4 separate regions of the Homo sapiens genome follow, and regions 1, 2 and 3 are each linked to region 4. The links are contacts of gene promoters, found by promoter capture Hi-C in blood cells and fetal thymus (Javierre and others, 2016). All regions are on one chromosome and are shown on one strand. Each heading gives the region's core, a stretch centred on a gene start or on the middle of the fragment in contact. The rest is flanking DNA. Distances are from core to core; before and after follow the strand shown. Region 1 holds the start of UPRT (uracil phosphoribosyltransferase homolog). Region 2 holds the start of ATRX (ATRX chromatin remodeler). Region 3 holds the start of ATP7A (ATPase copper transporting alpha). Region 4 holds the start of MAGEE1 (MAGE family member E1).

Evidence for each region. The method cuts DNA at HindIII sites, captures the fragments that hold promoters and counts their contacts. A CHiCAGO score of 5 or more calls a contact.
Region 1: a contact is called between a fragment that was not itself captured here and the fragment with the promoter of MAGEE1 in region 4, in 3 of 17 cell types (total CD8 T cells, non-activated CD4 T cells and total CD4 T cells). The highest score is 8.0, in total CD8 T cells.
Region 2: the fragment with the promoter of ATRX here is called in contact with the fragment with the promoter of MAGEE1 in region 4 in 1 of 17 cell types (total B cells); the score reaches 5.8 in total B cells.
Region 3: a contact is called between the fragment with the promoter of ATP7A here and the fragment with the promoter of MAGEE1 in region 4, in 4 of 17 cell types (naive CD8 T cells, total CD4 T cells, fetal thymus and 1 more). The highest score is 9.9, in naive CD8 T cells.

Annotation. Positions count from the first base shown.
Region 1 is chrX:75,269,803-75,277,402 of GRCh38, reverse strand. UPRT (uracil phosphoribosyltransferase homolog) reads right to left here and starts at 3,318. Exons shown (of 7, transcript NM_145052.4): 1 at 2,763-3,318. The coding sequence starts at 3,148. It overlaps LOC124905200 (a long non-coding RNA gene), which reads left to right and starts at 3,367. Exons shown (of 4, transcript XR_007068269.1): 1 at 3,367-3,925. RefSeq lists enhancers at 2,938-3,147, 3,308-3,357, 3,378-3,427. The HindIII fragment of the contact is 1,002 bases long and covers 1,225-2,226 here.
Region 2 is chrX:77,784,747-77,791,818 of GRCh38, reverse strand. It overlaps ATRX (ATRX chromatin remodeler), which reads left to right and starts at 5,603. Exons shown (of 35, transcript NM_000489.6): 1 at 5,603-5,837. The coding sequence starts at 5,818. RefSeq lists enhancers at 5,530-5,719, 5,730-5,839 and a silencer at 5,940-5,989. The HindIII fragment of the contact is 7,766 bases long and covers 4,791-7,072 here.
Region 3 is chrX:77,907,858-77,914,969 of GRCh38, reverse strand. It overlaps ATP7A (ATPase copper transporting alpha), which reads right to left and starts at 4,277. Exons shown (of 23, transcript NM_000052.7): 1 at 4,135-4,277. The HindIII fragment of the contact is 7,135 bases long and covers 2,418-7,112 here.
Region 4 is chrX:76,422,876-76,429,515 of GRCh38, reverse strand. MAGEE1 (MAGE family member E1) reads right to left here and starts at 1,806. Exons shown (of 1, transcript NM_020932.3): 1 at 1-1,806. The coding sequence starts at 1,585. RefSeq lists enhancers at 949-1,078, 1,549-1,758. The HindIII fragment of the contact is 4,624 bases long and covers 1-3,683 here.

The DNA.
Region 1 (7,600 bases), core at 476-2,975, 1.2 Mb after region 4:
CACTTACACCCAGGTTTACTACATAACCCAGGTTTTTCTGACTAATGACATATAATCAGGTATTATTTTGTCATATGTGAATGCTAAATGCCATTCCCTCTCCAAGCGCTATAGCAAGGGCACTTCACCTTTACATTATCATGACACTTTGTGAAATCTAAAAAACTAAGGAATCCTCACCCTCTAAAAAAAAAGGCACATATGTGAATGTTCATAGCAGCATTATTCATAATAGCCAAAGAGTGGTAAACCACCCAAATGTTCACCAACTGATGGATAAACAAATTGTGGTATATTCATATAATGGAGTATCATTTAATCATAAAAAGGAAAGATCCCACACGGATGAACCTTGAAAACATGCTAAATGAAATGAGTCACAAAATGACCACATATTGTATGATAATGAAATGTCCAGAATAGACATTTTTTATATGTAATGTGCAGAATGGGCAAACCATTAGAAATAGAAAGTAGATTAATGATTGTCTAGGGCTTTGGGTGGGTTGGGTGAAAATGGGGAGTGACTGTTTAATGGGCATGAGGTTTCTTGCTGGGGTGATGACAAATGTTCTAAAACTGTGGTGATGAATGCACAGCTGTGAACATACTTAAAACCACTGAATTATACACTTTAAATTCTTGAACTGTATGGTCTGTGAATTATATCTCAATAAAGATGTTATTTAAAAACAACTATTAAAAATCTTCATATGAGTAAAATTTCCCAGTTAATTTATGAGGGTTTGTTAAAGCCCTGAACCCATCTACTGGTACGAGGGAGTCGAAGACCCAAGCGTAGTAACTTCTGCTCTATAGAAACAAGAATCATCATCTATTTTTCTTTGTTGTATATGTAAGATTTATTTTGGCTGCCCCTACCCTACCACAACTACAGCAAACCTATGCCTCCTATTTTTTAGGATCACTATTTTGTCTATTAGATAACATAACCACAGTAGTTTTCAATATTGATTCATTAAAAAGAGTAAAATAGTATAGTTTCATAAATATAATTTTAAGAGCTACAAAAAAACTCTAGTAATTGAGCATCTATTATTTGCAAGGCATGGCCGGCATTCAAAAATGTAAAAGATTTCTGCCTTCAAGATGTCATAGGCAGGATAAGATCTATACAAAAATAACAATATACGAAAAAGAAGGTGAATCTTGCATTAAAAAGACCAGGGAAGATAAGCCAGGAATAATGATTAAAGGGAAGCTTCTTGGCAGAGGTGGACAATTATTTAATGCTGTGTTTCACCCTGAAGAATAAGTATCCTGAACGTACATAAAGGAGACACAGGGAATTCCAGATGAGAGCAGAAACAGATATGTTTCAGAATTGTTCCTAGGAACTATGAAGAAGGGCCTTCATCCCAAGCTAAGGGGGCCAGGCATGGTGGCTCACACCTGTAATCCCAACATTTTAGGAGGCCGAGGCACGAGGATTGCTTGAGGCCAGGAGTTCAAGACCATCGTGGACAATATAGCAAGACCTCCATCTCTACAAAAAAATAAAAAATTAGCCGGGGGGCAGTGCCATGTCCCTGTAGTCCCAGCTACTCAGGAGGCTAAGGCAGGAGGATTACTTGAGCCCAGAAGTATGAGGGTACAGTAAGCTGTGATCTCACCACTGCACTCCAGCCTGGGTGACAGAGAAAGATCCTGTCTCAAAAATATCAATCAAGCTAAGGATCCTGGACTTTATTTGGTAGGCTCTGAGAAGCCAAAGAAGGTTGCTGAGTAGGGCAATTACTGAATCAAAGATGTATGTTATGAAGATTGATTGTACAGTAATGTATGGGTGCATGTGGAAGAGAGGAAAAACTGCAAGCAGAGAAACAGTATTATTACAATAGTGTAAGACAAGGTTTCTAGAGTCTGGTTTAGGGAGTGGCATCTGTCATTCAGTAGCCATTTTTAAAAGATCAAGGCATGTCCCCCCAACCCCTGCCACTAAAAAAGGGGTGTTTTGATATGCTGCTCATTTAAAGTGCTGCCAATAAAGAAAATAGCTGTAGTTCATCATGGTACATATTTCCCTGGAGAAAACCCATTTACAACGTAGGTTTAGAAATTTCAAAATTACATTTTAACATGAAGTTCTGGCTACATTGGTTTGTGGGATTAGGAAGGGCCAAAGGCTCCTTTAGGCTCCCTTTGATCCATTAACTATGTTCTGTGAGTTTACAGTGAAAAATGATAAGAGTTGGACGATAAGCTTTCATGTGATCAAGTAAACCTGAACTCCAAGACTAAAAGACCTTGTTTGCAGTAGCAAATACTAAAGGGTCAGGGCCTGAATAGAATTTCCTTGAAATTGCTTTATTTCTATTTATGAACCTGAGGTGATTGGTGGTAGTGCATAACCTTGGATAGTAACCATTTCTGGGTTATAGGTTTACCATGTGGACAAGCACTGCCCACATAGTATAGGGGAGTTTACCTGCCTGGAATGGCCAAGGAGTTGTCTTTCCTGGGAGAGACAAAGAGCCCAGAGGCTACCTAAAGTCTTCCTCCCCACCCAAAGTGATGTTAGACACCGGAACTTGGAAAGAGAAGGTTGGCGTTCGAGTTACACGACACACACACACACACACACACACACACACACACACACACACCAAATAAAAGGTCTTACCCCAATCTCCAAAGTTTGCCAAGGCCAAGAACACTGTCTCTTAGCCCTTTTACTTCCAATCCCCGCCCACAGCCTGCAAGACCCTCCACTTCCCTTTCCCCTTCCGCTCTTGGCTTACTTGTCACGGATGATGGTCTGTAGCTCCCGTATCTGATCATTCATAGGCAGCAGCTTAAGCTGCGCCCCGATCTGCCGGGAGAGTTCGCAGTCCTCTAGGAAGGAGTTGCCAGCTGGTGCGTCATAGCTGCTACTGTCACCACTACCACTGTTGCCCTCTGAGTTGAGGCTGGAGCCGCCGCAGGCCCCAGAGTCCAGCTCGGCCGGCAGGCTAGAATGGGCGTACCCCGTGAGGAGAATCACCTTGGCCCTGGAGGCTCTGTTTCCCCCTGCGTGGTCCAGGATCAGATCGCCAGGTCGCAGCTGCTCGGGACTTGGGGTTGAGGCAGAGTTTACTTGCTGGTTGTGACAGGGCATGGAGTCCGGACACTGTAACTCCGTGGCCATACACCGGGCCCCGGGCTATCCCCGCTGCTACTGAACACTAAAGATAAAGAGGAACGGGTAGAAAGGACAGATGCTCACGTGCTCTCTCGGTTGCTCCCGCCTCCTCAGAACATCTAACCCTGGCTGTCCTTTCACCCCTAGGCCGCTGTTGGTTTCCTTTAGCACACTTTGGCTCACTCCCGCCCACACCAGACGTACTGCCTGCCTAGACACCCTATTGGCTGCACTCCCCGCCACTCTGCGGCGCCACTGCTTGTTAACCCTTTGAGTCACCCTTGCTACGTGGGTTCCCACAGGTAGCTAAGCCCCCGCAGCGAGGCCAAGGATGCCAGCTTGAAGGATCTTCCGGGGGCCCCTGGGGCTTCTGCATTCAGAACTTTGGGTGATTAGTAGAGCCAGGAAAAACTGGGGGTGGCAGGTGATGATACACAGTTACACACGTAAGGCCCATGTTTTCAGACTTTGTGACCTAGCAGAGAAATTATATCTCAGTAACCGCATCTTCAGTTAGCTTGTCTGCATAACAGAAGGAAGAAGTAAAAAAATGCCTAGCAGGCTGCTGAAGAGGCTGTCCTCTACTAGACTGTTCTAGAAACTGCAGCTTCCCAAGTATGCTTGACCGCCAAAGCTTTTCTTATCTTTATTGGTTGGGCCCCACAGTGTACACGTTGTCATGGGGACTCAGGCGGCATTTCAGATCCACTATCATTTTGAATCTTTAAAGTACTTGGAAAGACGCTTATTTTTAAGTGTATGGACTCACTATAACGGCCTGAGGTAAGAGTGTCTAGGGCAGTACTTTTCAAACATCAGTATGTACCACAATAATTGTAGAGCTTGTTAAAATGCAGGTTCTTACGGCTCATTTTTGAGATTGTGATTCTGTAGATCCGAGATGGGATACAAGAATCTTTTTTTTTTTTTAACTTTTAAGTTCAGGGATATATGTGCAGGTTTGTTACATAGGTTAACTTCTGTCATGGGGGCTTGTTGTAAAGATTATTTCATCGCCCAGGTATTAAGCCTAGTACCCACTAGTTGTCTTTCCTGATCCTCTCCCTTCTCACACCATGCACTCTGCAGTAGGCTCCAGTGTGTGTTGTTCCCCACTATGTGTCCATGTGTTCTCATCATTTAGCTCCCACTTATAAGTGAGAACATGCAGCATTTGGTTTTCTGTTCTTGTGTTAGTTTGCTAAGGATAATAGGCTCCAGCTCCATCCATGTCCCTGCAAAGGACATGATCTCATTATTTTTTATGGTTGCATAGTATTCCATGGTGTATATGTACCACATTTTCTTTATCCATTCTATCATTAATGGGTAGTTAGGTTGATTCCATGTCTTTGTTATTGTAAATAGTGCTGGAGTTAACATATGTGTGCATGTGTCTTTAATAAAACAATAATTTATGTTCCTTTGGGTATATACCCAGTAATGGGATTGCTGAGTTGAATGGTATTTCTGTCCTTCCTTTTTTTAACATGCCTATACAGATTTTTTTATAATTTTTTTTTTATTTCCATAGGTTATTGGGGAACAGGTGCTGTTTGGTTAGATGAGTAAGTTCTTTAGTGGTGATTTGAGAGATTTTGGTGCATCCATCACTCGAGCAGTATACACTGTACCCTATTTGTAGTCTTTTATCTCTCAAGCCCTTCCCACCCTTTTCCTCCAAGACCCCAAAGTTCATTGTATCATTCATATGCCTTTGTATCCATCATAGCTAAGCTCCCACTTATGAGTGAGAACATACAATGTTTGGTTTTCCATTCCTGAGTTACTTCACTTAGAATATTAGTCTCCAATCTCATCCAGGTCGCTGCAAAAGCCATTAATTCATTCCTTTTTATGGCTGAGTAGTATTCCATATATATATACATATATATATATACACATATATATATGTGTATATATATATATACATATATATGTATATATACACATATATATACACATATATATGTGTATATATATATATATCTCACAGCTTCTTTATCCACTCATTGATTGATGGACATTTGGGTTGGTTCCACGTTTTTGCAATTGCGAATTATGCTGCTATAAACATGCGTGTGCAACTATCTTTTCTGTATAATGACTTCTTTTCCTCTGGGTAGATACCCAGTAATGGGATTGCTGGATGAAATGGTAGTTCTACTTTTAGTTCTTTAAGGAATCTCCACACTGTTTCCATTAGTTGACATTCCTACCAGCAGTGTAGCAGTGTTCCCTGTTTGCCACATCCATGCCAACATCTACTATTTTTTAATTTCTTTGATTATGGCCATTCTTGCAAGAGTAAGGTGGTATTAAATTGTGGTTTTAATTTGCATCTCTCTGATAATTAGTGATGTTGAGCATTTTTTAATACATTTCTTGGCCATTTGTATATCTTCTTTTGAGAATTGTCTATTCATGTCCTTAGCCCACTTTTTGATGGGATTGTTTGTTTTTGTCTTTCTGATTTGAGTTCCTCGTACATCCTGGATATTAGTCCTTTGTCAGATGTATAGATTGTGAAGATTTTCTCCCACTGTATGGGTTGTCTGTTTACTCTGCTGACTGTTCCTTTTGCTGTGCAAAAGCTCTTTAGTTTAATTAAGTCCCAGCTATTTATCTTTGTTTTTATTGCATTTGCTTTTGTGTTCCTGGTCATGAAATCTTTGGCTAAGCCAATGTCTATAAGGGTTTTTCCAAAGTTATCTTCTAGAATTTTTATAGTTTCAGGTCTTAGATTTCAGTCCTTAATCCATCTTGAGTTGATTTTTGTATGAGGTGAGAGATGAGGATCCAGTTTCATTCTCCTACATGTGGTTAGCCAATTATTCCAGCACCATTAGTTGAAAAGGGTGTCCTCTCCCCACTTTATATTTTTGTTTGCTTTGTCGAAGATCAGTTGGCTGTATTTGGATTTATTTCTGATTTTGTGTTTTGTTCCATTGGTCTGTGGGTATATTTTAATACCAGTACCATGCTGTATTCGTAACTATTGCCTTATAGCATAGTTTGAAACCAGGTAATATGATGCCTCCAGATTTATTCTTTTTGGCTATATGGGCTATTTTGCTTCAATATGAATTTTAGAATTGTTTTTTCTAATTCTGTGAAGAATGATATTAGTATTTTGATGAGAATTGCATTGAATGTGTAGATTGCTTTTGGCATTATGATCCTGTTCACAATATTGATTCTACTCGTCCATGACATGGGTTATGTTTCCATTTGTTTGTGTCGTCTATGATTACTTTCAGAAGTGTTTTGAATTTTCCTTGTAGAGGTCTTTCACCTTCTTGTTTAGATATATTCCTAAGGATTTTTTTTTCACATAAAGTGTTTATTTTTTCCTTATTATACTTTAAGTTCTGGGGTATTTGTGCAAAACGTCCAGATTTGTTACATAGGTATACATGTGCCATGGAGGTTTTCTGCACCCATCAACCCATCGCCTACATTACGTAGTTTTCCTAATGCTATCCCTCCCCTAGCATCCCAACCCTGAAAGACCACAGCATGTGATGTTCCCCTCCGTGTATCTATGTGTTCTCATTGTTCAACTCACACTTATGAGTGAGAATATGAGGTGTTTGGTTTTCTGTTCTTGTGTTAGTTTGCTGAGAATGATGGTTCCCAGCTTCATCCATGTCCCTGCAAAAGACATGAACTCATCCTGTTTTTATAGCTGCATGGTAATCCATGGTATCTATGTGCCACATTTTCTTTATCCAGTCTAAAATTGATGGGCACTTGGGTTGGTTCCAAGTCTTTGCTATTGTGAATAGTGATACAATAAACACATGTGTGCCTGTGTCTTTATAGTAGAATGATTTATAATCCTTTGGGTATATACCCAGTAATGGAATTGCTGGGTCAAATGGTATTTCTGGTTCTAGATCCTTAAGGAATCCCCACACTATCTTCCACAATGGTTGAACTAATTTACACTCCGACCAACAGTGTAAAAGCGTTGCTATTTCTCCACATCCTCTCCAGCATCCGTTGTTTCCTGACTTTTTAATGATCACCATTCTAATTGGCGTGCGATGGTATGTTATTGTGGTTTCAATTTGAATTTCTCTAATGACCAGTGATGATGAGCTTTTTTTCATATGTTCGTTGGCTGCATAAATGTTTTCTTTGGAGAAGTGTCTGTTCATATCCTTCACCCACTTTTTGATGGGGCTGTTTGTTTTTTTCTTGTAAATTTATTTACGTTTTTATAGATTCTGGATATTAGCCCTTTGTCAGATGGGTAGATTGCAAAAATTTTCTCCCATTCTGTAGGTTGCCTTTTCACCCTTATGATAGTTTCTTTTGCTGTGCAGAAGCTCTGTTGTATAATTAGATCTCATTTGTCCATTTTGGCTTTTGCTGCCATTGCTTTTGCTGTTTTAGTCATGAAGTCTTTGACCATGCCTATGTCCTGAATGGTATTGCCTAGGTTTTCTTTTA
Region 2 (7,072 bases), core at 4,354-6,853, 1.4 Mb before region 4:
TTGTTTTTGTTTTTTTTTTTTTTGAGATTGTTTTAGCTTTTCAGCATCCTTTGAGATCCCACGGAAATTTTAGGATGGGTTTTTCTCTGCAAAGAATGCCATTGGGATTTTGATAGGGATTGCATTGAATCTGTAGATTCCTTTGAGTAGTATGGACATTTTTACAACATTAAGTCCTCTAATTCATCAGCATGGGATACCCTTCTATTTATTTGTATCTTCTTTTATTTCTTTTAGGTATGTTTTGGAGTTTTTAGTGTGTAAGACTTTTACCTCCTTGGTTAAGTTTATTCTAAACATTTTATCCTATTTGATACTATAGTAAATGGGATTGTTTTGTTTTCTTAATTTCCTTTTTTTTTTCTTTTTTTTAGACAGGGTCTTACTCTATTGCCCAGGCTGGAGTGCAGTGATACAATCTTGGCTCACTGCAACCTCTGCCTCCCAGGTTCAAGCAATTCTCCTGCTTCAGCCTCCCAAGTAGCTGGGACTGCAAGCACATGCCACCACGCCCGGCTAATTTTTGTATTTTTAGTAGAGATGGGGTTTCACCATGATGGCCAGGCTGCTCTTGAACTCCTGACCTCATGTGATCCACCTGCCTCGGCCTCCCAAAGTGCTGGGATTACAGGCGTGAGCCACCATGCCCGGCCTTAATTTCCTTTTTGGATTGGTCATTGTTAGTACATAGAAATGCAACTGACTTTTCAAAAAAACTTATGGAGCTATATGGTATTTCCTGTGTGGATGTAACATAATTTATTTAACCAGTCTTCTGTTAAGGAGCATCTGGGTTGTTTCTAATATATATATATATATATATATATAGAGACAGTGTCTTACTATGTTTCATATATATATATATATATATATATATATATATACACATATATATATGTATATATTTATAGAGACTGTGTCTTACTGTGTTACCCAGGATGGTCTTGACCTACTGGGGTCAAGCAATCCTCCCACCTCAGCCTCCCAAAGTGCTGGGAATACAGGGGTGAGCCGCCATGGCTGGCTGGCTTTTTTTGTTTGTTTGTTTGTTTTTTCAGAGATAGGGTCTCACTATGTTGCTCAGGATGGCCTTGAACTTCTGGGCTTAAGCAATCCTCCTACCTCAGCCTCCTGAGTAGTTGGAACTACAGGCCCACACCACTGTGCCCAGCTATCCAGTGTTTTGATGTTACAAATGATGCCGCAGTGAATAATCTTGTGTACATCTCATTTTGTCCCTGTAAAGTATATCTGTTGGATAAATTCCTAGAAGTTAAATTGCTGGGTTAAATAATATATGTATTTTAAAATTTCATAAATATTGCTCAAGAATTATGATTCTGACATAAAATAGGGGTTTTGAAGCTGTTTGTTTGCTTATTTATTTATTTATTTTCAGATGGAGTCTCACTCTGTTGCCCAGGCTGGAGTGCAGTGGCATAATCTCAAGTCACTGCAACCTCTGTCTCCTGGGCTCAAGCGATGCTCCCTCCTCAGCCTCCCAAGTAGCTGGGATTACAGGCACACACCACTACGCCCAGCTAATTTTTTTGTGTGTGTATTTTTGGTAGAGACAGGCTTTCACCATGTTGGCCAGGCTGATCTTGAACTCCTGAGCTCAAGTGATCCACTCACTTTGGCCTCCCAAAGTGCTGGGATTACAGGCTTGAGCCACTGAGCCCAGCCAAAGCTGTATATTAAAAATTATGGAGTAACTATTTTCTCAGCTGATTTGCTCTCTTTCAGGTACTGTATCTCTTATTCCCTTCCAAAACAAATAAGCACATTCACAAGTTACGCATTTATGGTCAAGAGTCAGAGAAAGGTCTAGGTTGCCTTCTGTGGCAATTTGAAGAAAAATGTGAAGATGTGTACCAGTAAACTTCTTCTAAAATAGTTGATGGGAACCCGTTGATAATCATCACTGAAAGCGATACACCTATATGTATATCAGTAAAACTTTGTCGGCCATCCTTTACTAACAAAGGAATTCTTTTTCTTTCTTTCTTTTTTTTTTGAGATGGAGAGATGGAGTCTTGCTCTTGTTGCCCAGGCTGGAGTGCAGTGGTGCAATCTCGGTTCACTGCAACCTCCGCCTCCTGGGTTCAACCAATTCTCCTGCCTCAGCCTCCCCAGTAGCTGGGATTACAGGCACCCACCACCACACCCGGCTAATTTTTTATATTTTTAGTAGAGATGGGGTTTCACCATGTTGGCCAGGCTGGTCTTGAACTCCTGACCTCAGGTGATCCACCTGCCTCGGCCACCCAAAGTGCTGGGATTACAGGCATGAGCCACCGCGCCTGGCCTCTTTTTCTTTTTTTTTTAAGTAAAAAAAAAATTTTTTTTAGAGAGGGAGCCTCACTATTTTTCCCAGTTTGGTCTTGAACTACTGAATTTAACCCATCTTCCCTTCTTGGCCTTCCAAAGTTAAGAGATTACAGGCATGAGCCACCATGTTCGGCTCAGGTATTCTCTTATGCTTCACAAATATAGTGAGTTGTTATTCACAATGTATTCACAAGTTGTTATTCACAACAATATTCACAAATGTTGTTCATTTTGAAAATGCTGTGATTATTGCTGGGCATGGTGGCTCACGCCTGTAATTCAAGCACTTTGGGAGGTTATGGTGGGAGGATAGTTTGAGCTCTGGACTTTGAGACATGAGCCTGGGCAACATCGAGACCTACTCTCTAAAAAAATAAAACAAAAAGATAAAATTAGCCGGGCTGTGGTGGCTTAGGCCTGCAGTTGTAGCTACTTGGGAGGCTGAGGTGGGAGGATCACTTGAGCTTGGGAGGTCGAGGCTGCAGTGACCCATGATCACGCCATTATGCTCCAGCCTGGGAGGCCAAGTGAGGCCCTGTCTCAAAACAAAATTAAAATTTAAAAAATCTATGATTGCTTGGCATGGTGGCTCATGGCTGTAATCCCAGCACTTTTGCAGGCCGAGGCGGGTGGATTACCTGAGGTCAGGAGTTCAAGACCAGCTTGGCTAACATGGTGAAACCCCGTCTCTACTAAAAATATGAAAATTAGTTAGTCGTGGTGGTGGGTGCCTGTAATCCCAGCTACTAGGGAGGCTGAGGCAGGAAAATCGCTTGAACCTGGGAGGTAGTGGTTGCAGTGAGCCGAGATCATGCCACTGCGCTCCAGCCTGCAGCCTGGGCTACAAGAGCGAGACTCCATCTCAAAAACAAAACAAAACAAAACAAAACAAAAACAAATTGTGATTATAGTTTTATTATTAAGTTTCTTTTGTGAGACTTGTCATTTAAAGCTGTTTAGTGTTGAGAAGTCTCTCAGCAACAGCTAGTTTCTACCTTAATAATTTCAATTCATTTAAAAATAATGTGAGGCAGGAGAATAGGGTTTGGAGGCAGGGAACCTAAGGCTGAGTAAAGTTGACTTCCTAGAACTGAATCAAAAGGAAAACCCCAACTTTCCACACCTAAGTAACAAAAAGACTACTCCCTTTGCAAATCCTCTTCCTTTTCCGCTTGGCAGATGGAAAACTGAAAGTATCTCTGATTGGTTGCAGAAAGCAGATGTTTGTATAGCAGTGTAACTTTGTAACTTCACTTTAGCCTCTGATTGGTTGCTGTCCACAACCAATTAGATGCTTGCATAGGGTGTGACCCTTGTAACTTCACTTTAGCCTCTGATTGCGGGCCACTACTTTATTTACATAGGGTGTACACCAAGTAACCAATGGAAAACCTCTAGAGAGTATTTAAATCCCAGAAAATTCTGTAATGGGGGTCTTGAGCCCCTGTGCTCTGGCAGCTCCTGCAGTCTTGTGGAGTGTACTTTCATTTTCAACGTGTCTCTGCTTTTGTTGCTTCATTCTTTCCTTGCTTTGTGCATTTTGTCCAATTCCTTGTTCGAAACGCCAATAACCTGGTAACATGTTGACTATTTACTATTTTTCTCATAGTGAAGTCAGTTGAACAGCAAGCACATTTCTGTGCTGCCTTGTGATGGAGTACATCATTCAAATTCACTGCATTTACCAAGGAGAAAAAAATGACTCCTGTAAATTGTATGTTGAAATGATATTTAATGTGTACAAGACAAAATCAGTATAGCAGGTACAGAGGTCTGGTTTCTATAATTGCCAACTGAACTCAAACATTTGAAAGATATAATTGCAATGTGTACAGGCGTCTGTTGATTAAAAAGTTGCCTGAGGCCAGGCGCGGTGGCTCACCCCTGTAACTCCAGCACTTTGGGAGGTCGAGGTTGGAGGATGGCTTGAGCTTAGATGTTTGAGACCAGCCTGGGCAACAGACAGACCTACCTCATCTATACCAATACATAAATACATAATTAGCTGGGCTTGATGGCACGCGCCTGCAGTCCCAGCTGCTTGAGAGGCTGAGGTGGGAGGATTGCTTGAGCCTAGGAGGTCGAGGCTGCAGTGAACTGCGTCACGCCACTGCACTCCAGCCTGGGTGACAGAGCTAGACCCTGTCTCAGAAAAAAAAAAAAAAAAAGTTGCCTGAGCCTATCAGATTTTCAAAGTGTTTCATTCAAAAAAGGCTCCCCTCTTGCTATCCCAGTAGAAAGCAGCAACCCTGTCACCTAACCCCGACAGGAGCTCTTGCATATTTCAAGAAAAATAAATAGAATGAACTAAAGCATGCATGGCAGAATAAATTTGGAAATAAATTTCGAAGCGATTAGATTTTAGAGGACTTGTTTGTGATTAGCAGAGATTACCAATGTAAAATCAAATTATAGATCATAAAAGCGGGAAAGGCATTTACAGATCATCCAGCCAAGCTTCCTCTGTAATGAGAAGGAAGCAGATCTAAATTGATTGGTTTGTGAGCTAAACATCACATCAAATTGGGGAAATGGCCCGTGTGTGTGTGTGTGTGTGTGTGTGTGTGTGTGTGTGTGTGTGTATTCTAAGAGACACTTTATTCAATATGGAAAGAATTTTATGCAGCGTTCAAGTTGGTCTTATGTCGTCTGCACACATATACATATATATAAGTATATTATACACATATACATTTCCAAGCATGTTGGTGTGCCAAATATTATGTATAAAACATCTAGGAAAGCAAATAACTTGATGATAGCCTAGCATATAGGAAAGAAAATACTTACATAGGATGGCCATACAGATTAGTGGTTAAGAGTGTCTGGTGAATCTCGGCTCCACTACTGTGGGACTTTGTGTCTTGGTTTCCTCATCTGGAAAATGTAGGTTTGTCTACCTCAGAGAGTGTAAAGATTAAATGAGATAACCCGGATAAAGGATTAGTGTAGTGCCGAGCATATAGTAAACTCTCAATAAATGTAGGTTGCTGTTATTACTTCGTTAATATGTCAAAGAAAAAAGAGGTTGGACCAAAAGAGCATTTTCAAAATAAAGTCAAACTATGTCACTAGCACTTTCAGGTCAATTGGGACTAAATTGGACCCCCTGCGAAAAGGTGGAGGGGATCAAATGACGTCGACCGCCTTAGCAACAGGCCCCCAAAGAAGGTGAATTTCCGTAGCCAATAAGACTCTGTGCTTTGGAGGAGGTAGCCAATGGCTGACGGAAAGAGAAAGAGGGAGGACGCGCCAATTCTCCTGCCTGAGCCTCGGCCCAACAAAATGGCGGCGGCAGCGGTGTCGCTTTGTTTCCGCGGCTCCTGCGGCGGTGGCAGTGGTAGCGGCCTTTGAGCTGTGGGGAGGTTCCAGCAGCAGCTACAGTGACGACTAAGACTCCAGTGCATTTCTATCGTAACCGGGCGCGGGGGAGCGCAGATCGGCGCCCAGCAATCACAGAAGCCGACAAGGCGTTCAAGCGAAAACATGACCGCTGAGCCCATGAGGTAAAACGCAACCCCGTCTCATGGGCCCCAGCGGTCTGGGCCCAGGCACCGTCTGAGTCGGGTGTTTGGGAAGGCGTTCGCTTGGTGGGTTAGGCCTGTGTGTTGCTTAGCCGAAAGAGGCATCGTTTTCTCTTTAGGTGAGAAGGGTTTCGGGGTATCGGCGCAAGGCTCCGACGGGGGTGGGGGTGGGGATGGGGTGGGGGGAGGTGGGGGGGGCGCGGCCTAGGGTATGGGGCGCTTCTTGCAATCTCCCCTAAACGGTGACGCTTGGTCGGGCTCCTCTGTTTATTCTTTGGTGCCTGTGGGATTGAGACCTCGAAGTCGGAGGCGGTCTTTGGTATCCCGGTCATTTTTGCTAATCTTTGGGCCTAGAAACTGCGTGGGGAAGAAGCGGGGGGAGGGTGAGAAGAGGGGGAGGGGTGGGCGGGCGCGAGGATGTGAGATCCCAGGACGACTTAGAGGCGTTTAGGTTGCTGGAGATGGGAAGCACCCGGGCCCTGCGGGATTTTTTTTCTGCAGCCCCAGGAGACAAGCCTTTTTTTGATTGGGTTGTGGTGCAGTTCCAGGTATTTAGGTATCTTTTCTACTCCATATCCTGAAGGATATCCTTGGGTTTATTTCTAGGCGAGGGGGGACTTAACACAGGGTTTTGCTTCCAGAGGACCCTAGTATACTACTTTTTGTGATGTCCAGCCTTAATGGGACCTCAAGTGTTTCCCCACTTTCTGGGCAAATTTCGAGGAGTAATTAGGCCCTATCTTTATTTACTTATTTATTCCATGAAGGATGAAGGGCAGGTTAACGTGGGCTGATGCGAAGTAAGATTTATTGCAAGGGAAAATGCCTGGCAGGCCTCCTCTTAACCAATCAAGCACGTTTATTAGGTTGAAGCTGTTTTTCTGTGTGCTTCTGATTTGCCTCTTGACGGGTCTGAAAATTTGGGTAGTCAATATGAAATGTATACACTTTTACCCAGGTGGCTGGCTGGCGTTTCAGTTTGACATTTGAATTTTCATCCCACAATGTGAATTAAGTAATTTTTTTACTCGGAGATGCATCCTTGGCGTCCAGTGGCAAAATAAAATTACAAGGAGCATGGGTCAGAATTGCATTTCAAGTTGGCGAAATGTGCCTTTGAGTAACTCTTAGATTGGCATATGTTTTTAGAGCAATTTAGCTAGAATGTAGAATTGGGCAATGAGCCTATGATACGTATGTCTGTATTTCTGCATGAA
Region 3 (7,112 bases), core at 3,028-5,527, 1.5 Mb before region 4:
TGAAGTTAAGATACCTTGAAGCATCAAGAGAATAATATCTAATACTCCAGAAAATGTTCAAAGATATTACTGTCAAGATGAAAAAACAAACATAGACCATTTCACTCCAGCCTAGGTGACAGAGCCAGACTCCATCTCAAAAATAAATAAACAAAAATAAACATTAGGTGTTTTAGTATATCTAAATATACATTTAGTATATCTTTTCTTTCTAGGAGAATCTGAGAATACAATTAAGACACCATTTTTAACACTAGGTGTTTTAAGGCCTGGCACAGTGGCTCATGCCTGTAATCCCAGCACTTTGGGAGGCTGAGGAGGGTGGATCACTTGAGGTCAGTCAGGAGTTCGATACCAGCCTGACCAACATGGCAAAACCCCTTCTCTACCAAAAATACAAAAACTAACCAAGTGTGGTGGCGCGCACCTGTAATCCCCGCTACTTGGGAGACTGAAGCAAGAGAATCACTAGAACCCAGGAGGCGGAGGTTGCAGTGAGCCGAGATAGCACCACTGCACAGCACGATGCTGTCTCTACAAAAAGTTTAAAAATTAGCTGGGAGTGGTGGCACACACCTATAGTCCCAGCTACTCAGGAGGCTGAGGTAGGAGGATCGCTTGAGCCTGGGAGATCGAGACTGCAGTGAGTTATGATGGCGCCACTGCACTCCAGCCTGGGTGACAGAGCAAGACCCCATCTCTTAAAAATAATATTATTTAAAAAATAATAATTAATTAATAAATAAGTAGCTAGGCATGGTGGCATGCGCCTGTGGTTCCAGCTACTTGAGAGGCCAGAGGATCATTTGAGCCCAGGAGATTAAGGCTGCAGTGAGCTATGATTGTGCCATGGCACCCTAGCCTGGGCCACAGAGCGAGGCCCTGCCTCTAGAAATAAATACATAGATAAATAATAACAATAACATCTTTTAAAATAAAAATAAAATAAAATAAGGTTAATGGCCAGTCTAAAACAATATCCCTACAATGTGAAATAACCCATTTATTTCAACTGGTAAATTGTTAAAAATGCACTCCTGATTATAGGTCTGAAAAACTGGACTTCTACACTAGAGATTAATAGTAAAAATAAGTAAAACTCTTTTTTCATCCTTGAGACATAGCTGTATAATTTTAAATGTGAACAGAAAATATGGTACAAAGTACACATAACTGACTCAAAATGGGGTATTTTACCCTCATTTCCTTCAAGGAAAGAGGTATCTGTGAAAACTGATGTAGTCTACCAATATCTCATACATTTGGGCACAAAAAGATTAGGAAATCACTTCAATTTGCAAACAGTGCTGGAAAAAGTAAGAACATTTTATAAAATCAGAAACACAGGACCCTTTTACTTTAATGAAACACATTCTAAAGGAATTTTGATATTTTTCCTGCCAAACTATCTCAGCAAGTTAAGTAAGCAAGTAATATCACATTAAATCAACCTGAAGACTGAGATTTAAGAGGGAAAAACATGATTGCTGGGATGGTAGAGTGAACTAAAATACTCTGCCTAACCATTGCCTATCACTCATCTGTCCCCCAGCCTCCCCCTTGCCCCGGCCCCATGTTGAGCTATATCCTAAGAAATATCGTTGTCTAAAAACAAAACGCTAAAACCTGAACTGCCCTTTAACAAAGATGAATAGAAGGAATTTTGAGACAAAACTCCCAAATACTATTCTCATCTATGCTAGTGCTTCTATGAGTTCAGACAAAAATCTCTCCTTGCAATTTACTTTCCCAACTGGCAAATGAAGATTATTTTCACTCATCAGGATGTCCAAAGTCTTGATTAATAAAGTTTGCCAAGAGCTTTTAAATATATAGATAAAAGGAGTTATAACAAGGAATTTATTTTTTTAAAATGTATTTCCTTTAGCGCCCTCACAGAAGTGAAGGTTGTGGTGTGTTAGCTGGGGTTATTTTTGCACTCTTTTCTCTCTCTCTCTTGTTTTGTAAGCAAATTTTACTGCTTCTGCAAGCATTTTTCAAAGAAAATCAACCTTCTGCTTTAGAGAACAGAGATGTTAACCTATCCTTTGGAGGGATTAGTGTTTAACCTTATCTTGAGGGCAGGCATCAAGATCTTTCTAAGGCTGTGATCGGAATAGAATAGTTCCTATCAAGTTAAGAAGATCAATAGAGAGAAATCAATTTAGAGGAAAAAAGGAAAAGCAGAGATTCCTTGGGGAAAACCTGGAACAGTTGCTCACTTCAGAAAATGTTATTCATTCCCAACAATTTTAAAAATGATTCCAAATTATATTTAAGGCACAACACTCAATCAGAATTAAAGTATAGCGAGTTTTACATTTTTTCTCTTTTAGATTTGAGTTTACATCAGAATTAAGCCTCATACATTAACATTGCTTTTGTCATTTCCATGTATTTTTTTCTCTATATAAGCTTTCTTATTGGCTGGAGGGCAGTTGGATATGTTTGTGAGCTGACTAGTTTTGTATTCTATATTTTTTCTAATTTTAATCAGTGACATCTTGGAAGATGTGGCTGTTAGAAATAGGAATATTGACTTACAGTGTGTTACTGGATGTCGGGCAACTTTCCAGACCCCCATGGCTTTGCTCACATTATTTCTTCTATCTATCAGTCCAGATAGATGTCTTCCTCTTCCTCCATTCCTGCAAAGCTAAATCCTATCTATTTTTCAAAGCCCAGTTCACATGCTCCCTTCCCTGCACTCTCATAACACCTCCTGTTTCTAATATATAACGTTAGTGAGATTTTTTAAATGTTTAGGTAATCGTGTATCTTTCTTTCCTACTACATTGAGATCCTCAAGTACAAAAAAAACTCTCTCATGTCATGACCTTAGACACCAGAAAATGTTAAATATAATAAAATGCCAGTTCAAAAATAACCATTGAAAAGGATGTGATAAGCAACCTAGTAATTCAGTCAGTGGGGCTGCTAGAAACCGTTGTCTTCATAGCTGAATTCAACTGACTCAATTCGGACTCAATTGTATGTAAACTGTTTATTTTTCTTTCTTCTTTTTTGGAGACAGTTTCGCTCTTGTAGCCCAGGCTGGAGTGCAGTGGCACGATCTCGGCTCACTGCAACATCCGCCTCCCAGGTTCAAGCGATCCTCTTGCCTCAGTCTCCCGACTAGCTGGGATTACAGGCGCCCGCCACCACGCCCAGCTAATTTTTGTATTTTTAGTAAAGACAGGGTTTCGCCATGATGGCCAGGCTGGTCTCGATCTCCTGACCTCAGGTGATCCACCCTCCTCGGCCTCCCAAAGTGTTGGTATTACAGGTGTGTCAGACACTGCGCCCAGCCTACTGTAAGTAAACTCTTTTGAGGCCAGGAACTCTGTCTTATTTCTTGTGCATCACCCCCTCCCCACCACCCCCCCGCACCCGGCAAAAAAAAAAAAAAATTAATAACCTCAGTATCATCTAATTCAATGTTCTGCACATATTCTCAATACAAAGCCATACTATTGTAGATAAAGAGTCTGTGATTAAAATAAAGATCAGATCCTGGACAAACGCTGAATTGTGAAACGATAAGTGTTTGTGCTTAAGATAATCTCAACGTCTACAACGAAGAAAAGTGTCAAAGATAAGATGCCACAGGGTCGGACAATGGACAGTAACTTTACTGGAAAGGGGGCACAATGAACAAAACTAAGTGGAAACAAGAGTTCTCTCAGTTTACCTTACGCTCCCAGAGCAAGACAAGAAGCCAAATATCTATTTTTCAATTATTATTTCATCAATTATGGTCATTTTAGTAACCTTAGCTTCCAAAGTATAAAGAGGTGTCACTAAGCAAAGACCCCAGTCCATGTGACTTTCAATGCCAAACACAAACTTTCTTGTACCCTCAATTAATTGGGTAACGTAGGCCATGGATGATCAGGACATTCTCTCCAAGAGGGTACAAGAAAGTGACACAGGTCAGGATTTAATTTCCCCTCCTCTATCCCCTGTTAGGGGAGGTAAAACATAAATGTAGTTAATACCTGAATTGTGAATAAGTGAAACTTTCGAGACTGCCCCAGACTAACATGACCTTCTCACCACACTCGTAGTACAAACTGACAGCACAGAAGACCCCCTCCAGGAGAAAGGACGACGGGAAGCCAATGTAGGACTTACCTGGTTTCTCTATCCTATGGTTAAACCTCTGGAGCTACGCAGACCGTGGCAGCGATAAATCCACGTACGCAGGCTCCAACAAAGCTCACACAATCGGAGAAGTCACAGTAGCTGCGGCTGCGGCGGCGGCAGCAACAACTCCTCCCTCTGCTTCTCTTTTCCCACCCCCCGCCGCGGCGGCCAGCCGCCTTTACCCCTCCCTCCCTCGACTACCCCCACTTCCGGGTGATGCCCCTGCCGGAAGCAGGGCCGCCACGGGAAAGAGAGCGACTGGTCACGTGAAAAGGAACGCGTGGTCTAGAGCCAGCTTCTCCTGCCCCCTGCTGCCCCCGGGCCGACACGCAGCCTCGAGTGGGTCTTTGTTAGGGTACGAGTCCACTATCCCACCCCGCCCCCACGACAAAAGCGAAACCAGAAAACCCATACTAAAACAGTGCCTTTGTCATCTTTAGTTTCCTAACCTCAGGCCAAGATGTAACATAAAAGATCCTTATAAGTCATCTTCCACATAGTTCATCTTTGCCTAGCATGAAATTCACGTGCATCTGTTAGACTGTGTTAACTGCCAAGATGTAACATAAAAGCTCCTTATAAGTCATCTTCCACATAGTTCATCTTCGCCCAGCATGAAATTCACGTGCATCAGTTAGACTGTGTTAACTGCCAAGATGTAACATAAAAGCTCCTTATAAGTCATCTTCCACATAGTTCATCTTCGCCCAGCATGAAATTCACGTGCATCTGTTAGACTGTGTTAACTTGCTTCCCGTAGACTGTGTAGCCTAATTCCAGATGTAAGTGCCAGAACTATGAATTTATCCTCTTCCCTCCATTGAAAAATTACATCAAGAGGAAAATGTTTATAAATTCATAATTTTTATATGTGTGTTGAGGGGGTAGGGACGTCACTTCACCACCTTCATAGCGCCATTCCAAGCTCTGAACCACTCCCCCATTTATTCATTCACTCGTCCATCATTTTACACACCTAGAAGATTCCGGTGATGCAAAAGTGTTACAGTCTCTGTTACCATGAGTTCATTTAGAAATGAGATGCATAAAATGTAAACAATGCAATAAATGGTACAGAAAACATTTGAAAAAAGGGTCATTTTATTCTTGCTTTCCAACTTAACATTTTGAAAAGCAGCAAAATTCTAGGATTTTTAAAACTATGAACATTAACAGTAAAAAGAGGGAGAGGCTCCATCTCACTTATTTCAAAGCAAGATGTGGCCTTTTCATATTTCCTTTCATGAAGTATCTGTCATAAGATGTAGAACAAAACTAATCACAGGACTATTTGTATTTTCATCTGGAACCATTTGAACCCAGTTCCCACAGAAGAGTATGAAGCCTAATAATGTTGCAGAAATCAAAATAGTACACAAAATACAAATATCAAGTAAATATTTGTAAAAGACTTAGAACAGCGTCCGGCACAAAGTAAGCATATTTAAGTGTTGAAATAATTTCCATCCTAGCTGTTGTCAAGTCCCTATTAAGCCTTGACAGGCAACATTTAAAATTACCCATAGATCTACATTTTAGGTCTGTGATTAAGTATTTCAGAATTATTATCCCCCTCCACACTCATCCACATAAATATAAAATTAGCCTCAGGACTCATCTTCCCAGGCATTATTTTGTAGTTGTCAATGTGTGCAGCCTTAATTATTAAGATACAAACTCAGCCCCAAATTTAAAATCTTAAAAATCACATCATATGAAATGAAGATAGCTTTTAAGTGGGTTTCCAAATATTAGCAAGTTGGTTTGTAACTATATTAACATTGTGTTAAGCATCCAAAAGAAATTCACTAAAAGGCAAAACCAAAAATATATCTTTTTCAGAAGCAGAACATTGAATCTACTAGCTATCTAGTATTTTTATGTAAATACTAAAGTTTATCACTATGAGCTGCAAGATCCTCTGCCAACCATGTACATTCTTAGGCACTCTAATATTTAACATAAAAACCTAGAGAGCTATATATATATTTTGTTGTTGTTTGGTTTTGAGAGTCTTGCTGTCACCCAGGCTGGAGTGCAGAAGTGTGATCATAGGTCCTTGTAACCTTAAACTCCGGGGCTAAAGCGATCCTTGCACCTCAGCCTCCCAAGTAGTTGGAACTATGGGCACACACCACCACACCTGGCTAGTTTTTATTTTTTTGTGTGTGGAGATGGGAGTCTCCCTTTGTTGCCCAGGCTGGTCTCGAACTCTTGGCCTCAAATGATCCTCCCACCTCAGCTGCCCAAAGTGCTGGGATTACAGATATGAGCCACCAGGCCCAGCCTAAAACTCTTGTCTTTAAATGCATCATCCCTAATCCTCCTTACCAATGCACAAGCATAGAAGGGAATGTCTTCAAGAAATAATCAGGTTTGCTGGGGGTTGAGCAGACAGCAGGTGTCCCTAAAATGCTTATGAAGTGTATTAATAACCCCAGTGACATTAAGCCAGGAGGATGGGAACTCAACATCTGTACCTCTACAACTACCACAGTACCCGTGTCTAGGTAAGTTAAAATGAATCTAAAATAACAGAACACAGGTGCTACAATAATTCTGTCCTAGAGTGAAATTAAGAATGAGATTTATGAGGTTGGGCACCGTGGCTCACGACTGTAATCCCAGCACTTTGGGAGGCCGAGGCAGGTGGATCGCCTGAGGTCAGGAGTTCGAGACCAGCCTGGCCAACATGACAAAACCCTGTCTCTACTAAAAATATAAAAATTAACCAGGTGTGATGGTGGGCGCCTGTAATTCCAGCTACTTGGGAGGCCGAGGCAGAATCCCTTGAACCCAGGAGGCGGAGGTTGCAGTGAGCCAAAATCACACCACTGAACTCCAGCCTGGATGACAGAGCAAAACTCGGTCTCAAAAAAAAAAAAAGAATGGGATTTATGACATTAACCCTAATGTTAAAATATTTCACAGCCATCCAAATAGAGTTTAAAGGATTGGCAATGATT
Region 4 (6,640 bases), core at 557-3,056:
ACTGGTTGCGATATTCTTTAACAATATATTCCCGCATTTCAGACTCCCGGATAGGGTACTTGCTCTGATCCTTCACCAGCAGGAACTGCAACAGCTCAGCTACGTTCTGTTCCATAGGGTCTTGGGGCTTCAGGGTAATTGCAACCCGGGAAGTATTGAGGCCCATAATACTAATGGAGTTGGGGCTCTCACAGTCTCTCAGGACCTCGAATTCTATAGGGCCTTCTGCACCCTTAGGACCCTCAGAATCTGAGTCCACGGAGGCCTTGGTTACCCTAGGGCTTGGCAAAACAAGGGAACACTTGGAGGGGTTCCGGTCCACAGAAGCACTAGAGCTAAACAATGTGCTCGGGCCCTCACCAGGGTTAGGCAGCACGGAGCTTCCCGGTCCGTCAGGGGCGGTGGGCTGCACTAAGGTGCTTGCGCCCTCACCAGGAGTGGGCGGCACGGAGGTGTCCGATCCATCAGAGGCGGTGGGCGGCACAGAGGTGCTCAGTCCCTCACCGGGGATTGGCAGTACGGAAGTGCTTGGTCCCTCACCGGGAGTGGGCGGCACGGAGGTGCTCAACTCCTCAGTGGCGGTGGGCGGCACGGAGGTGCTCAGTCCCCCACCAGGGGTGGGCGGCACGGAGGTGCTCGATCCCTCACCAGCAGTGGGCTGCACGGAGGTGCTCAGGCCCTCGGTGGCGGTGGGGGGCACGGAGGTGCTTGATCCCTTACCGCGGGTGGGCACCAAGGAGATGCTTTGTCCGTCAGAGGCGGCGGGCAGCACGGAGGTGCTCGGTCCCTCACCAGGAGTGGCCGGCACGGAGGTGCTCGGTCCCTCATCACGGGTGGGTGGCACGGGGGTGCTTAGGCCCTCAGTGGCGGTGGGCGGCACGGAGGTGCTCGGTCCCTCATCAGGAGTGGCCTGCACGGAGGTGCTCAGGCCCTCAGTGGCGGCGAGCGGCACGGAGGTGCCTGGTCCCTCACCAGGTGTAGGCAGCACGGAGGTGCTTGGTCCCTCATCAGGGGTGGGCACCACGGAGGTGCTTGGTCCCTCATAGGCTGTGGGCGGCACGGAGGTGCTCGTTCCCTCACCAGGGGTGGGCGGCAGGGAGGTGCTCGGTACCTCAGAGGCGGTGGGCGGCACGGAGGTGCTAGGTTCCTCAGAGGAAGTGGGCGGCCTGGAGGTGTTCCGGCCCTCAGAGGCGGCAAGCGTCACAGAGGTGCACAGCCCCTTAGAGATGGTGGGAGGCCCGGAGGTGCTTAGGCCCTCACTGGGGGTGGGCAGCACGGAGGTGCCAGGTCCCTCAGAGATGGTGGGCTGCCCGGAGGCGCTTGAGGCCTCAGAGATGGTGGGCGGCACAAAGGTGCTTGGGCCCTCAGCGGAGGTGGGCAGAACGGAGGTGCTTGGGCCCTCAGAGGCGCAGAGGCCCTGGAGGATCTGGGAATCGCTGGGACCCTGGGGGACGTCTGAGCCTGGCACATCAGCGGGGAGACCGGGGGCATTAGGGGCCTGCATTTCGCCCCAGCTGCTGTTGTGCGCAGTAGCCTTTGCAACGCGGCGGCGGCGGCGGCGCGAATTCTGGCTTACCAGAGACATGGTCCTGCCCACCGGCGTTGGCGTGTAGGAGCAGACACCGACAGGCCCGCGATCTGGCAGAGAGGACGGGAGGTGTGTAGGTGCCTCGGCACAAAACTGCCGCTAGCGGTAATGATGTTGCTGCTGCTGCCAGAACCAAAGTTCCAAGCAACTGCTGAAGCTGAAATTAGAGGTGGTGAAAAAGGCAGGCACTGGCCAGCAGTGAATGCTAGTCTCACTGTACTCTGCTTCTCACACCCCGCCCTCTGCCGCAGTCCGCGCAGGCGCAGACTGGCTCTGCGGCAAGGCGAAATCGCCCCGCCCCGCCCCTCCCCTGGGCCTGAGAAAGTGGATGCGGTGGTTCTGCACCAAAGGAGAGCACTAGCAGAAGGGAAACTTTGGTAGGGTGAAGCAAGGAGCTTAGAGTAGATGCATTAGGGAGTAAAAATGGAAATAATAATAAATACTTCTCAGATTTAGGGTACGATTGGAGGGCTTCTACACAGAGTGCCAGGCACTTAATAGATTCTCAAAATTGGTAAATATCATTGAGATTTGCAGTTTTCCCGAAGCTGTTTCAAAGAAAATGTGCATTGTCTCTGGAAGGGTAGAACCCCCATCCCTGACCATGTCTCTTCTATCACTTTCTCCATTTATGTGTCTAACTCCTCCCCTAATGTTGTGAGCTAGAAAGAACTCTTTCCTAGAGGGTCTGAATGCCTGAAATTTAGTACCAATTAGGGAGCTTCGAACACGCTTGAAAAGCCCAACATTCCCAGCCCAAACTTTCCCAGTCACCCAGGCTTTAGTGGGAAAGCCACTAAAACTCTTGAAAATTTGTTTAATTCTTTCACTCCACAATCACCTGCTCATTTAATAGAGCTTTTGTGAAAGTCAGTTGAGATACCGAGTGTTAAGGGATGTGTTACCTGCTCTGTTTTGCTCTATTACTCTAGCACTTTTGAGCAGATCCAACCCTGATCCCTTTATTCATTCACTCAACAAACACTGGTCATCTATCCCGAAGTTACAGTTAATCTCTTTGTCATCAAGGAGCACCCGATGTAAAAATGGGAGTCAGAGAAAAAGTAAAGCTAAATTTTCTAGAAGTTTGTAAAGAATGCAGGGGATGGCAGGGTCAGTTCTACCTGTAGATGCAGAAAAGGCTTCATAAAAGAGGAGATGTTTAAAAAGATGAGTGGGTAGATATTTACCAAAAGGACAAGGATGAGAAAATCATTCCAACTGAGAGTAGCACGGCAGCAGTGAGTAAGAAAGAAAACACTGAAGAGGACGGGCAGGCTGTTTTTAGAAGTAGGGGAGAGAGAGAGAGGAAGAGAGATAGAGGGAAAACACTAACTTTCTGACACTCACACAACCACTACAATTCAGCTTACCACTATTGACCCTTTATTGATATGTTTATATCTTGCTGCAAACATTTATTATATGTTGTCTTTCTTTATATCTTCTCAAAAATCTGGGAGTATACTTTTGTCTTTTTTTCTTTTTTTTTATACTTTAAGTTTTGGGGTACATGTGCAGAATGTGCAGATTTGTTACCTAGGTATACACGTGCCATGGTGGTTTGCTGCACCCATCAACCCATCATCTACATTAGGTATTTCTCCTAATGCTATCCCTCCCCTATCTCCCCACCTCTTGACAGGCCCTGGTGTGTGATGTTCCCCTCCCTGTGTCCATGTGTTGTAATTGTTCAATTCCCACTTATGAGTGAGAACGTGTGGTGTTTGGTTTCCTGTTCTTGTGTTAATTTTCTGAGAATGATGGTTTCCAGCTTCATCCATGCCCCTGCAAAGGACATGAACTCATCCTTTTTTATTGCATAGTATTCCATGGTGTATATGTGCCATGTTTTCTTTATCCAGTCTGTCATTGATGGGCATTTGGGTTGGTTCCAATACTTTTTTTTAATACGTCTTTAGGAAAGGGAAAATAACTGGCTACAGTCACAATGTGTCACCATCTCTGTCTCCAATTGGAGAAGCAATCCCTTATATGAATAACCAGTTTCGGTTCTGTGAAGTCCAATGCAGTTTTTATGCCTGGGGCCTATTCAGAATGGGAGGCACAAAAAAACCTAAGATATTTCTAAGCTTTAGCAACAGATATTCCTAACCTAGGGTACAGTGATTTTTAAAGACCCTGAAGTTGTTCAAACCTATAAACTAAAAATTTTTACCTCTAGAAATATATTCTAAAGAAATAATAAGATATATGTGCAAATATTTAGCTAAAATAACTTTTATTATATAATTTGTTCTAGTATAACAGAGCTGAAAACTAAATGAATGTTAAATAACTAAAGAGTATTTGAAGAAATTATGGTACTAAAAATGGAATACCAGTAAGTCATTATAATGATATCAAAGAATTCCATTTCTAATAATGTATAGTTGATTGCAGCAGCCCTGCGGAAAAAAAACCCCAGAAATTTAGGTAAAGAAACCCTTTTATGGCAACAAAGGCTACCAATATAGCATCAGAAACCTATAAAGGCAATGAGGACTTCAAGAGTAATGATCTCAGAAAAAAGGGAAGTGCAAAGAGGTGAGTCTTACATTGTATACAAGTTTGTCACTTAAGGAATTTAATGATTTGTAAGCTGATAATTTGGAATTCTGAACTTACTGAAATAGTACATCAAAAATGAAGGCAAAATAAATACATGTTCAGAAATCAGTGCTGAGTAAATTGATCACCAGTACACCCACACTGAGGAAATACTGAAAGGTTCTCCTCTGAAACTGAAGAGATGCAAGAAGCGAACAGTAATAGAAAGGATAAATATGTGGGTAAACAGACATATTGACAATGTAAAACAATAATAATAATATGTTTTGTGTAATTTATATGTAGAATTAAAATATAGGAAACAAGTGAGTGCAAGAGATTTGGGGACTGATCAAGAAAAATATATACTACCACACGTTTTCAGTAACACACAATGAGTTTTTGTTGTTTGTCTGTTTTAGAATTTCAACTTTTATTTTAGATTCTGGGGATACATACACAGGTTTGTTATATGGGTATATTGCATGATGCTGAGGTTTGGAAAACAGATGATCTCATCACCCAGGTAGTGAGCATAATACTCAACAGTTTTTCAACCCATGACCCCCTTTCTTCTTCCCCCTTCTAATAGTCCTCCAGTGTCTGTTTTTGCCACCTTTATGTTGATGAGTACCCAATCTTTAGCTCCAACTTATAAATGAGAACATATGGTATTTGGTTTTCTGTTTCTGTGTAAATTCGCTTAGGATAATGGCCTTCAGCTGCATCCATGTTGCTGCAAAGGACATTATTTCATTAGTTTTTATGGCTGTGTTGTATTCCATGGTATATATGTACCACATTTTCTTTAGCAAATATCAGTGATAGACACCTAAGTTGACTCCATGTCATTGCTCTTGTTAATAAGGCTGCAAACAACTATGAGTGTATGTGTCTTTTTGGTTGAATGATTTCTTTTCTTCTGGATATATGCCCGATAATGTGATTACTGAATTGAATGGTAGTTGTGTTTTATGTTCTTTGAGAAATCTCCAAACTGCTTTCTATAGTGGTTGAACTATATATAGTGTTTATTATTACTAATTTACATTCCCACCAACAGTGTATAAGCATACGAGTTTCATTTGGTCAACCCTTTGACAGGTTTGCAAGGGCATGGGGTTAATCAAAGTCTGAGATCTTCCAGAGGCTGGTGGGAGGTCACAACCTAGAAAATGAGAGGACAAGCTAACTGGAGAGAGGGAGGGGAATCAAAGAGATGGCTTATACATGTAGCGATGTCTCTCAGCAGCAAGACAGGGAGTTGCTGGGTCAGAGATCTCTGAAGGGCAGCAGTAGGTTAGGGTTTTTATCTCCTGGAGTTTATCCTATCTATAGCTAACAGATGATTGTAGTTTCACAGGGACATGCAAAGAAGGCAGCCTCTAAATGGCTAACAATCTACTTATTGGTCTATATTTAAAACAATTGATGTGTAAAAAATTGAGTTTGGTACTGGCAGAATCAATATATAGAGACTATCTTTGGCTCATGCATATAACAGTCCATCCCCTGGCCCAATGTTGTCTTATAATTAAAATTGTATGTTATTTTGCAGTGCCTAAGTTTCTTGCCAGAAATAAAGGAGACAGAATCCTATAAGGGTACAAACAAGGATTTCAAAACCCTTTCATAGCCAATCTGCCCACGTAATGGAGGAAAGCCAGGGGAATCGATTAGAAAAAGGAGCAGATTTTAATTTGTTCAATTGTTCAGTCAGTAGAGTGACATTATAACCCCTTTGCTACATGTTCCTGTCTATCCATAATGCTAGAATCAGATTGGCAGAAGCAAGTCCAACATGCAGTTAAATTTGTCATTATATGTGTTTCTGTGACTTAAGATATCTGCAGGTTTAGGCAAATGAATGTTCCTCCTTATTTGGATTGGTGTGCCTTGCTTGAGTTTCCGGGTGATTGCCAGTAGTAAATAGCATCAGAATGTTTGCATGGGTCTAGAGTAAGCTTCACAGTATCTCTTGGCAGTTTTTAAAAAGTTATTAATTTATACATGCACCAAATTTGATTCTGAACTGTGGAGTACTCACATATGTGATCCTCAAAGGTAGGGCAAATTATTTCAAAAATAACCATCAATCATATTATAAATTTGGCCTATTTATTTCCCTGTTTATGATGATGTTGTTCTAATTTTAGTGGGAGGCCACCTGTTCCATCATTTTTATTCCAGGGAAACTTTTCTAGGGAGTCCATTTGTATAGCTCGAATAAGTTCAAGGGTGACCTCTTTAGAGGTGGCAATGTGATGTCACCAATAAGTTTCTTCCCAGGTTAGCTTTGATATCAGGCTTCTCATTATTGTTTCTATCTCCTGTATGGTGGGATGTATACTGAAAGATTGAATGTACAAATGGACAATGGTTGGACCATATATAAAAAGTAGAACAGTGACCCGCAACCTTCAACAACTTGCCTAGGAAACCAACCCACTTAACTACAGTAAGCAGCCCAGAGCATTAGCCTGCTATAAGTCAGACTTGTAG